Linked DNA regions of Homo sapiens: all the other regions are linked to region 2. The links are contacts of gene promoters, found by promoter capture Hi-C in human tissues and cell types (Jung and others, 2019). All regions are on one chromosome and are shown on one strand. Each heading gives the region's core, a stretch centred on a gene start or on the middle of the fragment in contact. The rest is flanking DNA. Distances are from core to core; before and after follow the strand shown.

What was found. Contacts are between HindIII fragments. The study calls those that stand out against the background at their distance.
Region 1: a contact is called between a fragment that was not itself captured here and the fragment with the promoter of RFC2 in region 2, in 4 of the 25 tissues and cell types used here (IMR-90 fibroblasts, dorsolateral prefrontal cortex, lymphoblastoid cells and 1 more).
Region 3: a contact is called between a fragment that was not itself captured here and the fragment with the promoter of RFC2 in region 2, in 3 of the 25 tissues and cell types used here (dorsolateral prefrontal cortex, hippocampus and mesenchymal stem cells).

Annotation. Positions count from the first base shown.
Region 1 is chr7:74,182,222-74,185,925 of GRCh38, forward strand. All of the region lies in intron 1 of EIF4H (eukaryotic translation initiation factor 4H), which reads left to right. Among named protein-coding and RNA genes, the nearest start is that of MIR590, 7.1 kb to the right of the region's middle. The HindIII fragment of the contact is 4,931 bases long and covers 1-3,704 here.
Region 2 is chr7:74,252,396-74,256,183 of GRCh38, forward strand. It overlaps RFC2 (replication factor C subunit 2), which reads right to left and starts at 2,004. Exons shown (of 11, transcript NM_181471.3): 1 at 1,876-2,004; 2 at 34-103. The coding sequence starts at 1,988. RefSeq lists enhancers at 1,036-1,638, 1,639-2,241, 1,678-1,907, 2,242-2,844, 2,318-2,397 and 2 more and a silencer at 1,958-2,077. The HindIII fragment of the contact is 19,783 bases long and covers 1-3,788 here.
Region 3 is chr7:74,374,258-74,378,061 of GRCh38, forward strand. CLIP2 (CAP-Gly domain containing linker protein 2) reads left to right here. Exons shown (of 17, transcript NM_003388.5): 10 at 1,630-2,565. Among named protein-coding and RNA genes, the nearest start is that of GTF2IRD1, 78 kb to the right of the region's middle. The HindIII fragment of the contact is 5,767 bases long and covers 1-3,804 here.

The sequences.
Region 1 (3,704 bases), core at 105-2,604, 71 kb before region 2:
TGTATACCCATTACCTACTCTTTAAGTGACCACTCTTCTCTATACTACTATGGTTTATAATAGGTAGTATAAATGGTATTTATCAAAGGCTTGACCTTTGAAAGCTTAACCATTTTTGATGATTGTCAAAAACCCAAATGTTACCTGTTTGTAGATATGGGGTTTTGCCGTGTTCCCCACGCTGGTCTCAAACTCCTGAGCTCAAGTGATCTCCCCACCTTGGCCTCCCGAAGTGCCGGGATTGCAGGTGTGAGCCATGGCGTCCGGCCAGTCATTTTCTTTGGTTTACACTACTTTACCCTTCTGGGCCCTACTTTCCCCAAATGAGAGCTAGAAACTCCTCTGTTGGGAGGTTTAAATGAGATGTGTCTCATAATTTGGAGGCATAGTCTTGCCCTGTTGCCCAGGCTGGAGTGCAGTTGCACAATCACAGTCCCAAAGTGCTGGGACTACAGGCCGGAGCCACATGCCCATGCCCAGCCTTGAGCACTCAACTTTCTGTTGCATCTACTTACTGGATACATCCCTACCCTCATAACATCTACTCTGTACATTGGCTTCTTTTTATAGTTACCCTCTCTCAGTCTCCTTTGACACCTACAGATCTTTTCTGGCTCACCCTAAGGGTTCAGTATTGGCCCCATCTGCCATCTGGAAGTGGAGTCCCACTTCTGTTGCTCTCTGCTGTGCTGCATATCCTGGCTCCCAACTGCTCCACCCTGGTGAAACTGTTCTCATTGCTATCTTCCAGATTTTCTGCAGTCCTTTGCTTGTGACGTGATTTCTCCTTTCCAAATTATCAGCTCCTTGAGGGCAGAAACCGAGTCTTAGGTTTGTGCCTTCTCTACATTCTCTCCACCCTTCATAGACATGCAGATACGTGGTTGATTTGAGTAAGGAAAAGTGATTTGCCTGTCAAGGATTTTAGTCACACTTGGAGCCGAAAGTAGGGTTTCCTAAATTACTGAGGCTGTAATTGACTACTTTAATCTTTCATAATCAATAGACTGTCCCTAATGGGCAGTAGAAAGGACACTGCTCAGTAGTGGCAGGGAGTTTGCAGCACAGACCTTGACTTCAGGTGTCCTGAATTGGCACGCTCTGCTGATCTGTTCCTGTTCTACACGCACTCCTGCCAGCCCAGTGTAGCCTCAGGCCTGTTGGGTCTACCCAGGAGCATGGCAGAATTATATAGCACTTGGTACTTAGGAAATGTTTTTATGGTCAGTTTTAAACTTATAAAATCAAGATTGAAATATAACAGACAAGAAAACATAGGTACAGAGGTAATTTGGCAGAGGTCCTACATCAAGCTAGCTAAGGTGTCAAGTGAACCTGTTCTCCCATGTGTTGTTATTGATCTGTGTAGGAATGTACTGAATTTCACGAAACACAGCTTATTTATTTAGGTAGTAGTCCCCCAAACTTGAATCTAGTGAAAGGTGGCAGACATTTTAGCTCAGAGTTTTCTGACATTTGATTTTGTAAATGAATCGGTGGGTAACAGATCTGTGTCATCCTATGTGATGTGATGTGATGTCATCCTATGTGATGTGTACTCTGGGGTACTCACATCCTATGTGATGTGTCTCAAGTGACTGTCACACAGTGGACACTTTACCAGTGCTAGCTTGAATGAGGTCTACCTCCATGGCCCAGCCCTGCTGCCCCCTAGTGATTTCATTGAATGGGATGAAAAGGTAAAAAGTGCTTAAGACCTGTAGAAGGGACTACATCAGGTAGGGTATGGGAATATTTAGGACTACTTTGGTAATTATTGAAAAGTCTAGAGTATTAAGCCACTGGTGGTTTTGTGAGGCACGAGTGAGTTGAACAGTTTGGTGGGCTTTGGTGTATCTTTGCTCCAGAATTATATCACCAGTTAGCTGTTAGGTGCTGCCATTTGGTAACGTGCCAACTTTTCAAAAATGGTTTGCCCCAAACTAGATTTTTCTATCTTCTCCAAAGCCAGAGCCACCTTCCTGTCCTAGTGCATTTTTAGCAGTGCCCCGTCATCTTACTGGCATTCACCTGGGCTTCCTGTGCTCAATCAGGGGTCAAGTCTGGCCTGATCTCAGTTCCACAGTTCCTCTACTCTGTAAGTTCGAGCACAATTAGCAAGCCTTCGCACCTCCATTTTCCTTACTTAGCAACTACATCAAACACCCGAGAGTTTATCATCTCTCTTCATCCTCACCCTCCTTTTTAGTTTTTATGTATATGTTACACATTCATACACACAAACATACCTGCATATATACATGTGTTTTATACGTCCCACACAACTGTGAGCTGCTTACATACAAGACAGTCTTTTAACATCATTACGCATCACTAGATGTTTAATGTTGAGTAATGAATTTAAACTGTTTTTAACATTGACCCTCCATTTTTATGGTTTTCCACATGTTTATACTGTATCTTGTTTTTTGTTTGTTTGGTTTTGTTGTTGTTTTTTGTGCTTTTTTGTTTGTTTTTTGTGTTTTTTTGTTTTTGTTTTTTTGAGATGGAGTCTCGCTCTGTAGCCCAGGCTGAAGCGCAGTGACACAGTCTCAGCTCACTGCAAGCTCCACCTCAGCCTCTGAAGTAGCTGGGATTACAAGTGTGTGCTACCACACCTGGCTAGTTTTTGTATTTTTAGTAGAGACGGAGTTTTACCATGTTGGCCAGGCTGGTCTTGAACTTCTGGCCTCAAGTGATCCACCCACCTTGACCTCCCGAAGTGCTGGGATTACAGGTATGAGCCACTGTGCCCCGCCTTTTTGTTGTTGTTGTTGTTTCTTCAGTTGGAGACAGTCTCCTTCTGTCACCCAGGCTGGAGTGCAGTGGTGCCATCACAGTTCACTGCAGCAACAACCTCCTGGGCTCAGGTGATCCTCCCACCTCAGCCTCCCAGGTAGCTTGGGACTACAAGTGTGGACCATCACTCCCGGCTAATTTTTTGTATTTTTTATAGAGATGGGGTCTTACTGTGTTGCCCAGGCTGGTCTTGAACTCCTGGCTTTAAGTGATCCTCCCGCCTCAGCCTCCCAAACTGTTGGGATTACAGGCATGAGCCACTGGGCCCGGCTTTATACTGTAACTCATATATTTATTATCCCGTCCTAAATAGTATCTTACTGAAAATATTTTAGGATTTATGATTTCGGAGATATCAGCGATAGAGTACTATTGGCAAAGGTTATTGAAATGCAAAGTAAGTCACATTTACTAGGCCCGAAAAGATGGGAGAAGTGGGCAGGTAGGATGCAATTCACTTGTAAACCTATTTTCTGGTGGTCTTAGAACAGAACGTGGAACTTCCTATTGGAAAGTACCGGAATTGTGAATTATGAAACTTAAAAGCTTTTTTTTTTTTAACCATCAAAGAATCATCACAGCTTGGTTGACCCTTCTACTTTAGAAAAATGCTTTAATGAATAATATTTGTCTGCAAGACACCTGGAATTTATCTTCAGGAAGAAGTGGAATTTCCATTGTGTTTCTGGCAGTATGTAGATGAAAGACCAGGTTGCTCTCTAAGATGGATATTAATATTTCCCCTGCAAAGAGGGTGACTTTGGGCAGGTCTTGGGTTGTTGTGAAGGATCTCATTTATTTGAACGCATTTCCCGTTTAGAAAAAAAAACTGCAGTTGGCTGCCAGCACGGTATTCTTGGAGCAAACAGGAAATGGGTTAAATGTCTGTTTCAAAAAAAAATCAC
Region 2 (3,788 bases), core at 754-3,253:
GACTCTGTCTCAAAAAAAAAAAAAGCCACTCACCTCTAGCCTGCTCACGGTGTCTTCATTCCCGACAATTTCATTCAGCTTTACTGGCCTATATTTTTCAACCCTGTTAAGAAAATGCATAAAAATGCTGACATGGTTATCTTCACACTACCCCACAAAAAGCACCTAAGGGTTATCCTGAGAGCTTTGTTAAAAAATTACATACATTCAGTACAACTATGCCAAATGGTTGCAAGTTTTAAATGTAATAAGATGACAGCCAGGCGCAGTGGCTCACACCTGTAATCCTAGCACTTTGTGAGGCTGAGGCGGGTGGATCAATTGAGGTCAGGAGTTTGAGCCCAGTCTGGCCAACATGGTGAAACCTCATCTCTACTTAAAATACAAAAATTAGCTGGATGTGGTGGTGTGCGTCTGTAATCCCAGCTACTTGGGAGGCTAAGGCACAGTAGCTCGAACCTGGGAGGCAGAAGTTGCAGTGAGCTGAGATCATGCATGCCACTATACTCCAGCCCGGGCTACAGAGTGAGACTCTGTTTCAAAAATAAATAATAAATAAATAAAATGTAATAAGATGCCCAAGTGCCATTTGAAAAGTTAAAGGCATGAGAATTGTACAGCATAGGCTTCAAACCTGCCACAGCAGAGAAACACCTGTTGCTGCTGGAGCACGGCCAGCACAGGTCATCTGGAGCAATGTGACACTGTGCTGCAACCCTGTCCGCCCGTCACAAGAGGCCCAGCACATACAGCACTGACATCATTTGGTGTGACAACATGGGTGCAACCAAGCTCCTTTCTCATCCCTTACCTGCCAGTTTCTTTTCTTTTTTTTTTTTTTGGAGACAGAGTTTTGCTCTTGTTGCCCAGGCTGGAGTGCAATGGTGCGATCTTGGGTCACTACCAACCTCAGGTGATCTGCCCACCTCAGCCTCCCAAAGTGCTGGGATTACTGGCGTGAGCCACCATGCCAGGCAAGGATTACCTGCCAGTTTCTGCAGACGTGTGCCAAATACACAGCATAGCTGGCTAGACACCGTAGGCCTAGGCTGGGTACAGTGGCTCATGCCTGTAATCCCAGCACTTTGGGAAGGCGAGGCGGACGGATCACTTGAGATCAGGACTTCGAGACCAGCCTGGCCAACATGGTGAAACCCAGCCTCTACTAAAAACACAAAATTAGCAGGGTGTGATGGTACATGCCTGTAATCCCAGCTACTAGGAAGGCTGAGGCAGAATTGATTGAACCAGGGAGATGCAGGTTGTAGTGAGCAGAAATCACACCACTGCACTCCAGCCTGTGTGACAAAGTGTGACTCCATCTAAAAAAAAAAAATTAACTGGGCATGGTGGTGCGTGCCTGTAGTCCCATCTACTTAGGAGGCTGAGGCAGGGGGATCACTTGAGCCAAGGAGCTGGACATCAGCCTGGGCAACACAGCAAAACCCCCGTCTTGATTTTTTTAAAAAAATTTCAAATGTAAATGTTATTGAACCTAACAGTCAAAATATTATTTTCAACATGTAATCGATATTTTTTTTAAAAGATTGAAGTTTTTGAAAACACTAGGTCATACACTACTATACACAAAAACTTTTGAAAAAACCAACTAGGTCAGAGTAGGTGGCCACCCGGGGTAGCCCTAATTGTCATAAGCATTGTAGTGAGCGAGACTCCGCTCGCAGAGTTTAGACCGGCCACTCTCGATCCATGTCCGTCGCCTTCTTGAAATCATCTCGATGCCACCCGGGGCCTCCTCCTCCCTCGGGATTCCCCAAAACGAGCCCCTGACCCCCGAGTTTCTCCGGAGCACGGCCCGCCACTCGCCCACCCTCACGTCCAAACGCGCCCATTCTTTACGGCCTGGGACCTCACCACGGCAGTTCGTAGTGGCCGGCGCTGCCGGGGGCCTTGCTGAAGGCAGGGGCAGGGTCAGAGTCCTGGGCCTCCACCTCGCCCGCGCCACCACAGACGGCCTCCACCTCCATTCTCGCGCCTCCTCTTCCCGCCACCCGAGGCACCGCCCCTTGACGCCGCCACGCAAGCCCCGCCCCCTGGCTTCCGCCGGGCGCGAGCGGAAGTTACGTACCCGCGCCTCTCTGTGCCTGCGAAGAGGGTTCCGGTGGTGCCCTGGCGGCCATCGCTGGAGGCCGCGGTTGCTATGGGAGACCTGGCGCCCGGCCTGGGAGCGACAGGAAGGCGAGCTGTGGCCGCGACGCCTTCCGAGAAAGCAGGTCGCTCTCGGAACGGACGTTTGTGTGTGGTTTCTGTGGAAGATCCGCTCCGCGGCGGCGTGGGAGGAGCAGGGCCTGGAGGGGTTGCGGCCAAACGCGGGCTTCGGTGTTGGGACACGGACAACGCTGGCGTCCGGGCGCTGCTGGGCAGCGGGGTCCGGGGATGACGTCTGGGGCTGCCCGTGCCCACTTTTCCAGATTGCTCTGAATGTCCTAGTGAGCTGCTCCCGTTGGGTAGGCTCCTGCGCCTCAACCGCGCTCGGTACTCGACGTTTATTATCAGGGAATTCTCGGCTGCAAGATGGGAATTCCACCCCCACCCCATTTTGCAGAGGAGGAAACTGAAACCGTCCTTTTGTCAGATGAAATGCAATGTTCATTCCAGGAAAATAGGGACTCAAGGCCGGTGCGGTGGCTCACCCCTCTAATCCCAGCACTTTGGGGGACAGAGACCGGAAGAGCGATTAAGCCCAGGAGTTCGAGACCAGCCTGGGCAACAAAGTGAGATCCCCGTCTCTACAAAAATAAAAATTAAAAAAGTAGCCGGGCGTGGTGGCGCGCACCTGCAGTTCCAGCTACTCAGGAAGCTGAGGCGGAGGAGTGCTTGAGCCCAGGAGGTGCAGGCTGCAGTGATCTCTGATCACACCACTGCACTCCAACCTGGTCTGCAGCAAGACCCTGTCTCAAAAAAGAAAAAGTAAATACTTCAACCTTGCAAGGGTTTTGAGCATTCTTATGGGCTGTTTTTCTACCCAATCTTTCCTCCCATAGCCCAAATTGTCATAATATTCAATAATGATGATCCCAGAACTTTGGGAGGCTAAGGTGGGAGGATCCCTCAAGCCGAGGAGTTTGAGACCAGCCTGGGCAACATGGTGAGACCCCATCTCTACAAAAAAAATTTTTTAAATTATCCAGTTGTGGTGGTACGCGACAGTAGTCCCAGTTACTCGGGAGGCTGAGGCAGGAGAATCGGTTGAGCCCATGAGGTTGAAGCCACAGTGAACCATGATCAAGTCAATGTACTCCAGCCCCGGGGGACAGAGTGAAATCCTGTTTCTAAAAAAATAAGAAGAAAAGAAAGTAGGTACTTCAGATTCACAAGTGCTTTGACCATTCTTTGTTTTGTTTCTTGTTTTTTGTTTTTGAGATGGAGTCTCACTCTGTCACCCAGACTGGAGTACAGTGGTGTGATCTCAGCTCACTGCAATGTCAGGCTCCCAGGTTCAAGTGATTCTCCTGCCTCAACCTCCCGAGTAGCTGGGACTACAAGCGTGTGCCACCACACCTGGCTAATACTTGTATTTTCAGTAGAGATGGGGTTTCGCCACGTTGACCAGGCTGGTCTCAAACTCCTGACTTCAAGTGATCCGCTTGCCTCAGCCTCCCAAAGTGCTGGGATTACAGGTGTGAGCCACCGCGTCTGGCCAAGCAGTTGGTTTTAACGATAGTATTAACGTATACAGATTCACAACTTAACACAGTGTTTTTCTTTCCATGTAATTTGGAAAAAATGTTTGAATTGGCCATCTCTCCCCTATTCCCCCTTTAAAC
Region 3 (3,804 bases), core at 737-3,236, 120 kb after region 2:
ACAGGGTCCATTTGCACACACTGGCCATTGCTCAGTGACCATGTGCTTGTACGGTACACACTCATGTGCATGAAGACTGAACGCACAAACTGACCCAGTCACGGCGGACCGGCCGGAGCCCTCCAAATGCATCTTGATCTAGGGTTCAACCTGATGAAAACACAAAAACAGGGCTGGGTGTGGTGGCTCACACCTGTAATCCCAGCACTTTGGGAGGCCAAGGTTGGTGAATCATCTGAGGTCATCTGAGGTCAGGAGTTCAAGACCAGACTGGCCAACATGGTGAAACCCTGTCTCTATTAAAAATACAAAAATTAACTGAGCGGGGTGGTGCACGCCTGTAGTCCCAGCTACTTGGGAGGCTGAGACAGGAGAATCATTTGAACCGGGGAGGTGGAGGTTGCAGTGAGCCGAGATGGTGCCACTACACTCCAGCCTGGGCAAGAGAGTGAGACTCCATCTCGAAAAAAACAAAAACCAAAAAACAAAACAATAAGTTTATTGAACTAAAGGATACCTTCAGAAACAAAATGTTTAAAGCTTGTAATAGATTTAAAGCTTGAAAATATATCATTTTCATATCTATGACCATCAACGTGATCAAGGTGGTTTTTTGGAGAATGGAGCCTCTAAGAGTTTTTTGTTGAAAGATGGGTCTGGGAGCACCCTCTTCTGCTTTAAGCATTAAACTGGACCCTTCTTGGCCACTGCCTCCAGCCAGCCCCTTGGGCTGGATATCCTTCCTAAGGCAGGATAATGCAAAATTCACTGTGGCCTCTGTTCTTTAAAAAGAATGTTAACAAAAAAAAAATTTCTTAATAAAAATACAAAGAACTTTAACTCAGTTGGGCATGGTGGCTCATGCCCATAGAGTCCCAGCTGCTTTTGAGGCTGAGGCAGGAAGATTGCTTGAGCCCAGGAATTTGAGGGTACAGTGAGCTATTATTGCACGGCTGCACTCCAGCCTGGGCAACATAGCTAGACCCCCGTCTCTTTTAAAAAAAAAAAAAATGCTGGGCGGTGGCTCATGCCTATAATCCCAACACTTTGGGACGCCAGGGCGGGTGGATCACTTGAGGCTAGGAGTTCGAGACCAGCCTAGGCAAAAGAGTGACACCCCATCTTTACTAAAAAAACACAAAAATTCCCCAGGCGCATGGTGGTGCATGCCTGTAGTCCCAGCTACTCGGGAGGCTGAGGCAGGAGAATCGCTTGAACCTGGGAAGTAGAGGTTGCAGTGAGGTGAGATCACGCCACTGCATTCCAGCCTGCGTGACAGAGCGAGACTCAAAAAAAAAAAAAAAAAAAAAAAAAAAGCTGTAACCTCAAATAGGTGGTTTCTTTTAACCACCAATTTGTCCAAGCCACCTAGGTAGAGGAGTGGCGACAGTTGGCTCTGAATCTTTGGGGTACAGCCAGGGAAGTCTTTCTGGATACTGTGATGGGCCAGGCCTCTACATCCAGCCAGCACTCAGGAGGGAGTGAGCGCCTTTCCCTTCCCATGACCTCCACCTGCTGGGGCTGGTGCCCTCGAATGGACGCCCCCTACCCGGCCCCCACCATTGTGCCCTCCTTACCTTCCAGCCAGCCAGCCAGCCCGCTGATCCCTGTCTCCCTCTCTCCCCACAGCTGACCACAGTGGCCGAGAAGTCGCGCGTGCTGCAGCTGGAGGAGGAGCTCACCCTGCGCCGAGGTGAAATCGAGGAGCTCCAGCAGTGCCTGTTGCACTCGGGTCCCCCACCTCCGGACCACCCAGACGCCGCCGAGATCCTGCGGCTACGGGAGCGGCTGCTCTCGGCCAGCAAGGAACACCAGAGGGAGAGTGGGGTGCTGCGGGATAAATACGAGAAGGCCCTGAAGGCCTACCAGGCGGAGGTGGACAAGCTCCGCGCGGCCAACGAGAAGTACGCACAGGAGGTGGCGGGCCTGAAGGACAAGGTTCAGCAGGCCACCAGCGAGAACATGGGGCTAATGGACAACTGGAAATCCAAGCTGGACTCGCTGGCCTCGGACCACCAGAAGTCCCTGGAGGACCTCAAAGCCACCCTGAACTCGGGCCCAGGCGCCCAGCAGAAGGAGATCGGCGAGCTGAAGGCAGTGATGGAGGGCATCAAGATGGAGCACCAGCTGGAGCTGGGTAACTTGCAGGCCAAGCATGACCTGGAGACCGCCATGCACGTGAAGGAGAAGGAGGCCCTGCGAGAGAAGCTGCAGGAGGCCCAGGAGGAGCTGGCTGGGCTGCAGCGGCACTGGCGGGCCCAGCTGGAGGTGCAAGCCAGCCAGCACCGGCTGGAGCTGCAGGAGGCCCAGGACCAGCGCCGGGATGCCGAGCTGCGTGTGCACGAGCTGGAAAAACTGGACGTGGAGTACCGGGGCCAGGCGCAGGCTATCGAGTTCCTCAAGGAGCAGATCTCGCTGGCCGAGAAGAAGATGTTGGACTACGAGCGGCTGCAGCGGGCAGAAGCCCAGGGCAAACAGGAGGTCGAGAGTTTGCGGGAGAAGCTCCTGGTGGCTGAGAACAGACTCCAGGCGGTCGAGGCCCTGTGCTCCTCCCAGCACACCCACGTAGGCGCCTGCCCCTCCTGCTGGGGCGGGAGGGTCGGGCTGGGGAGGGCTTGGCCTTTTGCTGACCTCTGTTCTGCAGCCCAGGAAGCATTTCCCTTGTCCCCGAGAGCATGCCTGGGGCAGTCAAGGAAGGGGTCACCTGGCTTAGAGGAGGAGGAGCTCCTTGGCCCTCTGTTAGAGGGGCAGTGCGCCCTGGTGACCAGGGAGAACCGAAGCTGGTCTGAGCTGACCTGGCTGCATCCCCCCGCACAGAGCAGACCTGGAGAGATGGGACCTCCGTGCAGAGGACGGGCTTTGATTTACCCATACATGTCTTAGGGTGCAGGGCTCCTAGGACCCGGGACCTCAGACCCTGTGCCCTGGGGCTGGCACAGACCTGAAGGCAAGCTCTGCCTATCCCCCTGGGGGCACCCATCTCCAACTTAGAAGCTCACCTGGGGAATCAGCGGCAGCCCCCTTTCTGCCAGTCCTAATGAGACTTTAGCAACGGTGCCAACGAGTACTTCCCCAGAATGTGGGAGTTCCCGGAGTGGGGTCTGGAAGGCTAGAGGGGGTGGCCCTAAAGAGGTCGCTGTCACCAATGTCAATTTTGCTCCAAATCTAGAAATTCCTTAAGCATCTACCCCTTCTTCCTTCAGCTGAACCCATCCTCCCAGCCCCTCTGAGGAGGTCAACACCCAGGTGGGCTGTGCCCACTCCACCAGGGCCAGGAAGGGCCTTTTGAGTGGCTCTGGGTACCACGTCTTATGCCAGGCCCTATGTGACTCCATTTCACCTTAACATCCTTAGATTGATACTGGCTCCATTTCACAGGTGAGCAAACCAAGACTTTCCCAGGTCCACAGCCTCTCAGTGGCAGAGATGTTCAACCCCATTCCCTGTGGGGCTGACAGAGAGTGCCCAAGACAACAGGAATTAATTCATAGGAGGGATGGCTAGCAACGGACTCTTGCCTGTATACAAATTGTACTCAGAGATTCTTGAGTTTCCAGTTCCCCCACATACATTTTTTTTTTTTTTGAGATGGAGTTTTGCTCTTGTTGCCCAGGCTGGAGTGCAGTGGTGGGATCTCGGCTCACTGCAACCTCCGCCTCCCAGGTTCAAGCAATTCTCCTGTATCAGCCTCCCAAGTAGCTGCAATTACAGGCATGCACCACCACGCCCAGCTAATTCTTATATTTTTAGTAGAGGTGGGGTTTCGCCAGGTAGTCCAGGCTGGTCTCAAACTCCTGACTTCAG